Linked DNA regions of Homo sapiens: regions 1 and 2 are each linked to region 3. Evidence: promoter capture Hi-C in human tissues and cell types (Jung and others, 2019). All regions are on one chromosome and are shown on one strand. Each heading gives the region's core, a stretch centred on a gene start or on the middle of the fragment in contact. The rest is flanking DNA. Distances are from core to core; before and after follow the strand shown. Region 1 holds the start of SYMPK (symplekin scaffold protein). Region 2 holds the start of NAPA (NSF attachment protein alpha). Region 3 holds the start of AP2S1 (adaptor related protein complex 2 subunit sigma 1).

What was found. Contacts are between HindIII fragments. The study calls those that stand out against the background at their distance.
Region 1: a contact is called between the fragment with the promoter of SYMPK here and the fragment with the promoter of AP2S1 in region 3, in 1 of the 25 tissues and cell types used here (dorsolateral prefrontal cortex).
Region 2: a contact is called between the fragment with the promoter of NAPA here and the fragment with the promoter of AP2S1 in region 3, in 1 of the 25 tissues and cell types used here (dorsolateral prefrontal cortex).

The regions. Positions count from the first base shown.
Region 1 is chr19:45,861,406-45,864,891 of GRCh38, forward strand. It overlaps SYMPK (symplekin scaffold protein), which reads right to left and starts at 1,742. Exons shown (of 27, transcript NM_004819.3): 1 at 1,653-1,742. FOXA3 (forkhead box A3) reads left to right here and starts at 2,921. Exons shown (of 2, transcript NM_004497.3): 1 at 2,921-3,120. The coding sequence starts at 3,052. RefSeq lists enhancers at 767-1,405, 1,657-2,066 and a silencer at 2,707-3,116. The HindIII fragment of the contact is 22,327 bases long and covers 1-3,486 here.
Region 2 is chr19:47,513,728-47,517,496 of GRCh38, forward strand. It overlaps NAPA (NSF attachment protein alpha), which reads right to left and starts at 1,336. Exons shown (of 11, transcript NM_003827.4): 1 at 1,116-1,336. The coding sequence starts at 1,213. RefSeq lists a silencer at 1,285-1,624 and an enhancer at 1,715-1,984. The HindIII fragment of the contact is 27,973 bases long and covers 1-3,769 here.
Region 3 is chr19:46,849,331-46,852,768 of GRCh38, forward strand. AP2S1 (adaptor related protein complex 2 subunit sigma 1) reads right to left here and starts at 1,516. Exons shown (of 5, transcript NM_004069.6): 1 at 1,434-1,516. The coding sequence starts at 1,436. RefSeq lists an enhancer at 1,531-1,840. The HindIII fragment of the contact is 18,087 bases long and covers 826-3,438 here.

The sequences.
Region 1 (3,486 bases), core at 492-2,991, 990 kb before region 3:
AAAAAACCCATATATACATATTTCCCTTTCATTTACAAAAAGAGCATACACAGGGCCGGGAGCGGTGACTCACGCCTGTAATCCCAGCACTTCGGGAGGCGGAGGCAGGTGGATCACGAGGTCAGGAGTTCAAGACCAGCCTGACCAACATGGTGAAACCCCATCTCTACTAAAAATACAAAAATTAGCCAGGCGTGGTGGTGTGCCTGTAATCCCAGCTACCTGGGAGGCTGAGGCAGGCGAATTGCTTGAACCTGGAAGGCAGAGGTTGCAGTGAGCCGAGATCACGCCACTGCACTCCAGCCTGGGTGACAGAGTGAGACTCTGTCTCAAAAAAAAAAAAAAGGAGCCTACACAGGCCGAGTTTGGTGGCTCAGGCCTGTAATCCCTGCACTTTGGAAGGCTGAGGTGGGCAGATCACTTGAGGTCAGGAGTTCAAGACCAGCCTGGCCAACACAGAGAAACCCCGTCTCTACTAAAAATATAAAAATTACCTGGGTGTGGTGGGGCACGTTTGTAATCCCAGCTACTCGAGAGGCTGGGGTGGGAGAATCACTTGAACCAGGGAGGTGGAGGTTGCAGTGAACTGGGATCGTGCCAGCCTGGGCGACAGAGTGAGACCCTGTCTCAAAAAAAAAAAAAAAGAAAAAGCATATACAATAAACACCAACCTCCACTTCACTTGTTTTCCCTTAATATATGTTGGAGGCCACTATATCAGTGTATAGAGATTTTCATCATTTCCTTTTATCTACCTCATTCCTTTTTAGAGTTGCATAGTATTTTTTATGTGGATGTATTATAGTTTCTTTCAGCCAATCTTCTTATTTAAGAACATTTGGGATGCGTGTAGCCTTTTGCTATGATGAACAGTATCACTGTTTCCCCTTCCCTCTCGATGTACTCGTTAAGAAGTGGTACCCTGCCCCACTGCTACCTAGGAATCTGATGACTACCCTGTTTCCCCAAACTGGCTCTAGGAGTATCTTTTATTCCTTCAACGAACATTAGCTGGGCGTCTCCGGCGTGATTGGCGCTGTGCTGAGAACACAGTGGCGACAGAGACAAACCTAGTCCCTACCTTCATGGAACACACGGTCATAGACATCATAAAACAGCACACAGATAAGAGTCGGATAACAAATTAGACCACACGTGACATGAAGGAACACGGACCGACAAAAGCATTTAACAGGCGGATTTCTGGATGGAGGGCAGGGAAGGAGGGCTTCGCAGAGGAAGTGACGTTGGTGCCGAGACCCGAAGGATGAAATGGGAGTTAGCCAAGCCGAATGGGTAAAAGGATGTTGCAGGCAGAAGGGACAGCCTGTGCAAAATCCCCGAAGCGGGAAAGCGCATGGCAAGTTTAAGGAACCGAAAGGCCAGGGCGGCTGTTAGAGGTGGGGGAAAAAGCAAAGAGGCCGAGTCGAAGCAAGCGAGGTCTGCGGGGCGGTGGCGCCCGGGGGGCCACGTTGGAACTTTGCCTCGAGGGCACTAGGGAGCCAAGGAAGGGTCCTGAGCAAGGGAAGAAACATGGGTCGCGAAAGCCACTGTTCCCCTCTCCCCACGGCGATGCCCTCCCCGCCCGAGCCCCTGCTTCTTTAGGAGCCTCCTCCTTTCGTCTCCGGGCCCAAACGCCGCCTCCCGCTCACCGCAGCTCTGGCCTCCGTTCCCCTCGCGCCCCCTCAGCAGTGCCTCTTCCTACACTCCGCCGCCGCCGCCGCCGCCATCTTCCGTTCGTCGCCGGGAACGGTGCGCACGCGCCACACACCCAGGGCCGCCGGGAAATGGAGTCCAGAGCACAGCCCGACCCCGCCCATGCCTCGTCCCGTGCGAGCGGCATTCTGCCCGCCTCCATACTACGGCGAGCAGACCCTTCATTTCCGGCTCTGGGTCCGGCTAGGCCTTCTGGGAAATGTAGTCCCTTCGGAGGCACCGGGCGGAAAGGGAGCTAGAGCATTCTGGGAAATGGAGTTCTCAGTGGTGCTGAGTCCCTGGACGGCTGGCTGGTCTTGGAGAGTGCGGAGTTCGGGCAGCGAAGCTCCTGGGTCTTGGAGGGGAGGTGGTCTGTTGCCCTAGTGGGGTCTGCGGAGAGGCCCCGATCCCCTCCATCTTTGTTCTTGACCCTTTCAACAGTCTGAAGCATTTCTTTTTCTTTTCTTTTCTTTCTTTCTTTTTTTTTGGAAACGGAGTCCCGCTCTCTCTCCCAGGCTGGACTGCAGTGGCGCGATCTCGGCTCACTGCAACCTCCGCTTCCTAGGTTCAAACGATTCTCCTGCCTCAGCCTCCCGAATAGCTGGGATAACAGGCACGCACCATCACGCCTAGCTAGTTGTTGTATTTTTAATAGAGATGGGGTTTCACCCTGTTGGCCAGGCTGGTCTCAAACTCCTGACCTCAAGTGATTCGTCCGCCCGCCTCGGCCTCCTGCAGTGCTGGAATTACAGGCGTGAGCCACCGCGCCCGGCCAAGTTAAGCATTTCTAGCCGTCGGAAGCCTCAGTCTTCCTGTCTGTCCAATGGGGATGTGATTTCGGGGACCTTTTACGGGTCCTTGTAGTCGCATAGTGGCCCTAGCGTTCTGATTCCCCTTTCTTCCGCCACGGTCATGCAGGGCTCTGGCTCTTCGTCCTCTCCTGCCGAGATGATGAAGCCCCCTGAGGTAGAAAGGCTCCAGAGTTCTGACCTCGGGGCCCTTGGTATCTGCAGCGTCGCTGCGGGCAGCTCCCTCACTCCTGAATCACCCCCAGCTGTCGCGTCCTGGGGCTGCGGCCCCCGGCGCCTGAGGTCTGTCTCCTGGCGATCCCGCAGGGGGCGCCCCAGTCCGAGCGCGCCGCCCTCGGGGAGGCGGGAGGGGAGCCCGGGGCGGGCGAGGGCGGGGGTGTCCCGGCTATAAAGCGTGGCCGCCTCCCGCGGCGCTCGGGACAGCCGTACCCCGGGCGGTCGGACGGGCGGGCGCCGGTGGGAGCTCGGGCCGTGCCCGCTGAGAGATCCAGAGCGCTCCGTTCCCCCGGGGCCGGAGCGGGGGCGGGTGGGGGCGTAAGCCCGGGGGATGCTGGGCTCAGTGAAGATGGAGGCCCATGACCTGGCCGAGTGGAGCTACTACCCGGAGGCGGGCGAGGTGTGTCCTCGGGGATGGCGGAGCGGGAAGTTGGGGGCAGGTATCGGGGTGTGGGCTCACATGGAGCAGGGACTGGTTGTGGGTTCAAATGGAGGCAAAGGCGTCTACTTGGGCAGCTGAGGAACTGGGAACACGGAGACCAGGTGTGGAAGTCGGGGACCGGGGACGAGGCATGGATGGGAGCGCTGTTTGGGCAGCCTCGCCGCGGCCAGGGCTTAAAAATGGAAGTCAGGAAAATTTAGCCAAGGGTCGGGTCACACCTTAAACTTGGGAGCCGGGTGTTGGAGCCCCAAAAAGCAAGGGATTTATATGTACAAACCAAAGATAGGAATCAGAGTTCCAGGGTAGGGGACAGACTAGGGGGTT
Region 2 (3,769 bases), core at 86-2,585, 660 kb after region 3:
CCCCTGTCTCTCCCTGTTATCCCTCCATCTCCTTGGCCAAGCCACCACCACGCATTCCCCCACCCAGGAGTCTCCAGCCTCAACCCAGGCCTCCTCAGGCTTTTTTCTTTCTTTCTTTCTTTTTTTTTTTTTTTTTTTTTGAGACAGAGTCTCGCTCTGTCCCCCAGGCTGTAGTGCAGTGGCTCGATCTCGGCTCACTGCAACCTCTACCTCCGGGTTCAAGTGATTCTCCTGCCCCAGCCTCCCGAGTAGCTGGGATTACAGGTACCCGCCACCAGGCCCAGATAACTTTTGTATTTTTAGTAGAGACGGGGTTTCACCATGTTGTCCAGGCTGGTCTCGAACTCCCCGCCTCAGATAATCTGCCCACCTCGGCCTCCCAAAGTGCTGAGACCTCCACAGTCTTGACTCCATCATCCCGGGTTCCTCCGTTCAGCTGTCCTTAAACTAGTCACTGCTAACCAGGGCCGTACTCACCCCATGCACCCCCCACACTTCAGACGCGGCTCACCGCTCCTAGGATCATCTAGCCCTGAGCCCCTCTGCCTGGTGTCAGCCCCCTTCAGCCTTCACCCTCACCGCCCAGGGCCCACGCAAATCCACTGCTCCAGGGGTTGAAAAGGTCAGTCCCTCGGGCAGGCGTCCTCAGCCCCAGGCCCCATCACTGCCGCCTGAGAGCCTTCAAACAGACTCCCCTAGAGCTCCGAAAAGCCTCTGGACCTGGCTTCTCTCCCGGACTCCCTCCGTCCCCCCAGGCCGGTCCCCTCCAAGGCTTCAGGACGTACTCCCTCGGTCCAGGTTCTCCCCCGCCCGCTGGCCTGTCTTCGGCCTGGGTCCCCTTCCTCGCCTCAAGATAGTGTCGCCTCGGTCCGTGTGTCCTCAGCCCAAATCCCTTCCGCCATGTCAGACCGTCTCTCCTCAAACCGTGTTGCCCCGGCCCAGGCTCTTGGCCCTCAGCCTGCGTCCCCTCTGCCGCCTCAGGCCATGTCACCTTATTGCAGGTTCCTCTCCGTCCCCTCGGCCCGAGCTCTGCGTGCCCTAACCCGCCACCTCCGAGCGTGACTCCTTCGTCCTCTCAGCCTAGGTCCCGGCCGACCCCTCAGCCCGGTTCTCACCCAAAGAGGCCAGAGAAGAAGGACTGCGAGTTCTTCACTTTGCGCTCCGCCTCGGCCAACAGCGCCATCGCCTCCGCTTCCTTCCCGGAATTGTCCATGGCGGCCACAAAGGGACTCAGCAAAGCGCCTGACCCTGACCCTGGGAAGACTCAGCCGCGGCCGGGCCGCGGAACACAGATCGGTAAAACTCGCCCGGCTGCGTTGACGTCGCACCGGCGCGCGTCGCTTGCGGCCAGGAACCACGTGACTAGCGCTGGCCAACCAGCGGCCTCGTAACGCCGCGCCCGCTCCGCCGGACACGCCCCCACCAGCCGCCGCACGCCGCCCGTGACTCGTGACCCCCCAATCGGCGTCAAGAGACCTCAACGCATGCGCACATACCGGCGAACGGCGCTCCACTCTCTCCCCAGCGCTCTGTACCTCACCTCCCACGTGACCCTGTGGAAGGCAATGGCAGTACCCCCCGCCGAGGCCCCGCCCCACGGTGTTGCTGCTGGATCCTCCTCCACCAATCAGCAGGAGCCCTCGGCTCGCGCTGGGGCGGGGGGTCCCCCACTCGCCCTCCCCGCGGAACTCTGGCACAGTCAGCTGACCGCAGACACTCACGTGACAGCTCGGGGCCCACGCCCGGGTTTGACAGTTCTGCGCAGAACTTAGTCCCGCCCCCGCGGCTGGTCTCGCCGGTTTCTTCACTTGGAAAGGCGTTTGTGGGAAAAGGAAACCGTTCTGCTTTTTCTTGCTCCCTCTGTCGGCCAGTACTAGAACTGCTTTGGGGAGACCGGTGAAGAGAGACTGCAAACAAAAACTTAAGAGGTTCTCTAACTCTGGTTTCATAAAAAATAGCTGAAGAGGGCCGGGCACGGTGGCTTACGCCTGTAATCCCAGCACTTTGGGAGGCCGAGGCGGGCGGATCACTTGAGGTCATGAGTTTGAGACCAGCCCGGCCAACATGGCGAAACCCCGCTCTACTAAAATACAAATATTAACCGGGTGTGGTGGCACACTCCTGTAATCCCAGCTACTGAGGAGGCTGAGAGAGGAGAATCGCTTGAACCGGGGAGGTGGAGGTTGCAACGGGCCGAGATCGTGCCACTGCACTCCAGCCTGGGCGACAGAGTGAGACTTAGTCTCAGAAAAAAAAAAAAAATAGCTGAAGAGAGCGTGTTAAAAAAAAATTCAGATTCGAAGATGGGCGCGGTGTCTCGTGCCTATAATCCCAGCTACTCGGGAGGCGAGAGGATCGCTTGGGCCCAGGAGTTTGAGTCTAGTTCAAGTCCCGCCTTGGGCAACATAGCAAGACTCTGTCTCTAAAAAAAAAAGTTTAGGCTCAAACACACCTCCTGCTGTCCCAGAAAATTGAGTTGCTGGTTTCTGAGACAGGGTCTCACTCTTTGGGTTGTTGGTTTTGGAGACAGGGTCTCGGTCTGTCGCCCAGGCTGGAGTGCAGCAGCACAATCATAGCTCACCTCAGTATAACTTTGTAGTGCCAGAAAGGAAGGAAGTATTCCACACGTGTGCTCACACACAAAATTAGGGGGTATGCCAAAGGAGCCAACTGAAAGAACTCCCAATGGCCAAAGCTGGAACAATTTGAGCATCAAAATAAAGTAGTATTGGATTATAATCCCAAACATAAAGTATCCATGAGCCTATGGTCATATAGATGAATATAGAACAAATAAATAAAGGGGGGAGAATAGACAAATAGTTTGTGCAGAAGAATTCCAAATAATCTGCGTAGATACTCTGCTCTCAAGAAGGTGAAGGATACCTCCCCATTCTGTAAGTATGGACTGTGCATAGTGACTTCCTTTCAAAGAAGAGGGTACAAGAAAGGGGAGAAAAAGCCTAAATTTACAGTGGAGAAACCTGACATTGACATCTAGGTGATTGAGGTTAACCTCAACATTGATAAGTCATGTGATTAAAATGGCTCTTTACTTCTGGGATCTTTCAATCTAATCATGAAAAAAACACTAGACAAATTCCAGTTGAGCCACATCCTCCAAAATACTTGCCCAGTACTCCTCAACACTGTTGGTGGGTGCAGTGTGTCACATCTGTAGTCCTGGTACTTTGGGAGGCCAAGGCAGGAGGATCACTTGAGGCCAGGAGTTTGAGACCAGCCTGTCCAACATGGGGAAACCCCGTCGCTACTGAAAATACAAAAAACTTAGCCCGGTGAGGTGGTGCATGCCTGTAATCACAGCTACTTGGGAGGCTGAGGCAGGAGGATCACTTGTACCCTGGAGGTGGAGGTTGCAGTGAGCGGAGATTGCCTCACTGCACTCCAGCCTGGGGGACAAGAGGGAGACTCCGTCTCAAACAAATAACACTGTCAAGTCATCAAAACAAGGAAAGCCTGAGAAACCATCACAGCCAAGGAGACGTGACTGCTAAATGTAATGTCTTACCTTCGGTGGGATCCTGGAACAGAAGGGCATTGAGTTAAAAAACCAAGGAAATTGGCCGGGTGCGGTGGCTCATACCTGTAATCCCACCACTTTGAGAGGCTGAGGCGGGTGGATCACCTGAGGTCAGGAGTTCCAGACCAGCCTGGCTAACATGGAGAAACACTGTCTCTACTAAAAATACAAACATTAGCTGGGCCTGGTGGAGGGCGCCTATAGTCCCAGCTACTCAGGAAGCTGAAG
Region 3 (3,438 bases), core at 266-2,765:
CCACACACTCTATCCTCCCTCCCCCAACCAACCAAACTGGACCGGAACAGGATGTTACACTCTCCTTCCAAGAACTCCTGCTGAGCCAGGGAAAACCACTTCCTAGCAGGGCAGGGGTCCCAGGCAGGAAGGGACGTTGGGGGGCCTACACCAGGCAGCCACAGCCTGGGAGCAGAGCCGGAGACATATTCACACAGTTAGGAGAACTAGAAGCAAACCCACAGAGTTGACAAAAAGCTCTGCCTCTTACTCCCAAATTCCCTTGTATACCTCTCCCTGTTTTCTTCCCATTTGGAATCTCAAGTCCCCTCCGTCCTGAATCTCTGCATCCTCACGCCTCTGCTGTCCCCTCTAGATGCCCCCCAACCTTCCCTGTCTCCAATCCCCCTCCTCTGGAGTTGTTCCCTTTTGACCTCCACTTTCTCAGTCTCAGTTCCCCTCCTTGGGGCCTCAATGGGCTTTTTACTGGTGACATCCCTTGTCCCACTCCCAAGCTTCCTCCCTTCTTCAAAAGGTCACATTTTGCCTCCAAGGACCCTGTTCCTGGAGGAGACTCCGCCCCCGCTCTGACACTCTTTCTCATTCGTTTTCTTTCCCAACTTCCAGCCCAAAGAACCCTTTCCTAGATCCAAAGCCCCAACCTGGGGGATAGGGGCACTCCTAAATCCAATGTTGAGTCTTTGCCCCAACAAAGATTCCTCCCCAGGTCTCACACTTTCAAGCCTACTCCCCACCCCACAAGATCTCTCCTCTTGGAAAGACCTATTCAGTTGCTCCCCATTCTTTCCGAGTGTCCATCTTACCTCCAGGTCCTCTCTCCTTTTACAGCGCTTTCCCAGACCCTTAAGTTTCATTCCCTACAGTTGCCTCCTTTTGGTTTCCTGTGCCAGGTCTCTTCTTGAGATCATCCCTCTCTCACAGGCAGTCTCCTGCCCCTGTCTCAACATCCCCTCTCCACCTGCAATCAGATCCTTGTCTCTAGAGACTCCTCCCATCAAGAAAACCTCCCTCCCCTTTTCCAAGGTCTCGCGTTCTCGTCCCAGCGCTCCCGCCACACTTCCAGAGCGCCTTCCTCTTTCGGACGCCCTCTCCCCACCTCCAATGCCTTCTCGCTACCCACAAGACTGTGTCTCACGAGTTTCCTCTCGTTTCAAAGCTTCCAACCATCTACAACGTTTCCCACCTGCACAGCCCTTTCCCCTTGGAACACCACCCCCAATGCCCGTCGCCGCGAGACCCCTGGTAACCCCCGCGCGCAGAATCACCGCCCTGTGCCCTCCTTCCCGGCCCTGGATCGGTCCCAATCCCCAGAGCCCGCGCCTGACCCAGACCATCCGCGGCAGAGAAGGGACTTGTCAGCGCCCGATCCAGCCTCGGCTATTTACGCGTGGGCCCCCCCTCCGCCAGTCCCCGGCGTAGCGCTCCCCCGTTACCATGGCGACCCCCGTCCAGACCCCAGCGGCCCCGGTCCCGCGGCGACTGGGCAGCTCCGGCTCAGGGTGCAGTTGTAGGGCCCAGAGCTAGAGCGGACTTCCGGTAGAAAAACCCGCCTGCCTTCTCGCGCACAGACCCCTGGGAGTTGTAGTTTCACCAAAGGGGCCAGCCTGGGTGAAGATGGGTGAAGAGTCAGAGCCAGTCCTTTTCCTACCAAACGAGTCAGATCCCAAGTGCATGCTGGGATTTGTGGACAAACATCTTTACAGAGGACTACAATTCCCGAGATGCTGAAGAACCAGCGGTGAAGGCGTTGCATTCAGGGAAATGTAGTTCTCTTAGGTCCCCTCCCCCCACCCAGGGGAGAAGGGCATGCTGGGAATAGTAGTTTTAAATTTTAAAAAACTGTCCTGGGGAGATAGAAAATGTCTTTCCATTCCTCATCCAGTGATTTCTTTAATTTTTTTAAAAATAGAGACAGGGGTCTAGATATATTGCCTAGGTTGATCTCGAACTCAGCTTCAAGCGACCCTCAGCCTTCCAAATCACCAGGATTACAGGCATGAGCCACCACAACACCAAGCCAGTGTTTTGCTTAAAATACGTTGCGTGTGTCTCTCGGGAGACAACAGTTTAAAAGCATAAATTTGAACCGGCCCGGCGCGGTGGCTTACTCCTGTAATCCCAGCACTTTGGGAGTCCGAGGCAGGCAGATCACTTGGTTAGGAGTTCGAGACCAGCCTAGCCAGCATGGCGAAACCCCATCTCTACTAAAAATACAAAAAATTAGCCAGGCATGGTGGTGCGCACCTGTAGTCCCAGCTACTCGGGAGGCTGAGGCAGGAGAATCACTTGAAGCCCGGAGGCAGAGGTTGCAGTGAGCCCAGATCTCGCCACTGCACTCCAGCCTGGGCAATAGAGAGAGACTCCAAAAAAAAAAAAAAATCTCTAGTTTGGCGGGGGCATGATGGCCCATGCTTGTAATCCCAGCACTTTGAGAAGCTGAGGTGGGTGGATCACCTAAGGTCAGGACTTCGAGACCAGCATGGCCAACACGGTGAAACCATTTCTACTAAAAATATAAAAATTAGCTGGGTGTGATGGCAGGTGCCTGTAATCCCAGCAACTCGGGAAGCTGAGGCAGGAGAATTGCTTGAACCTGGGAGGCAGAGGTTGCAGTGAGCCGAGATCACACCATTGCACCCTAGCTGGAATGACAAGAGCGAAACTCTGTCAAAAAAAAAAAAAACCCTCCAGGTCAGCAGTTAGTTTAGTGTTTTTTTGGTGTGTCTTTGTTTTTGCTTTTTTCTGAAAGAGGGTCTCCCTTGGTCACCCAGGCTGTAGCGCAGTGGCATGATCTCAGCTCACTGAAGCCTCAACCTGCTGGGCTCAAGTGATCCTCCCACTTCAGCCTCCCGAGTAGCTGAGACTACATACACATGCCGTCACACCTGGCTAATTTTTTGTACTTTTTGTAGAGACAGGGTCTTGCTATGTTGCCTAGGCTGCTCTTGAACTCCTGAGCTCAAGCGATCCTCCCTCCTCCACCTCCCAAAGTATTGAGATTACAGGCGTGATTTTTTAAATGGCCTTTATTACATTTTAAAAATTATTTTATTTGCCCTATGAGTATGTGTGTATGTTTGTCTAGATCTCTCATTAGGTAGTGAGTTGTTGAGGGCAGGGACCCTGTCTGATAACTGTATCTTCATTACCTAGAACATGACAGATGGTAAGCAGTCAATAAAGTTATTACTATTAGTACTGAGGGGAGATTGGCCCTAATAAGAACAAAGCATGCCAGGCATGGTGGCTCACTCCAGTAATCTCAGCACTTTGGAATGCCAAGGCAGGCAGATCACCTGAGGTCAGGAGTTCGAGACCAGCCTGCCCAACGTGGCGAAACAGCACCTCTAATAAAAATACAAAAATTGGCCGGGCTTGGTAGCACTTGCCTGTAATACCAGCTACTTGGGAGGCTGAGGCAGGAGAAGCACTTGAACC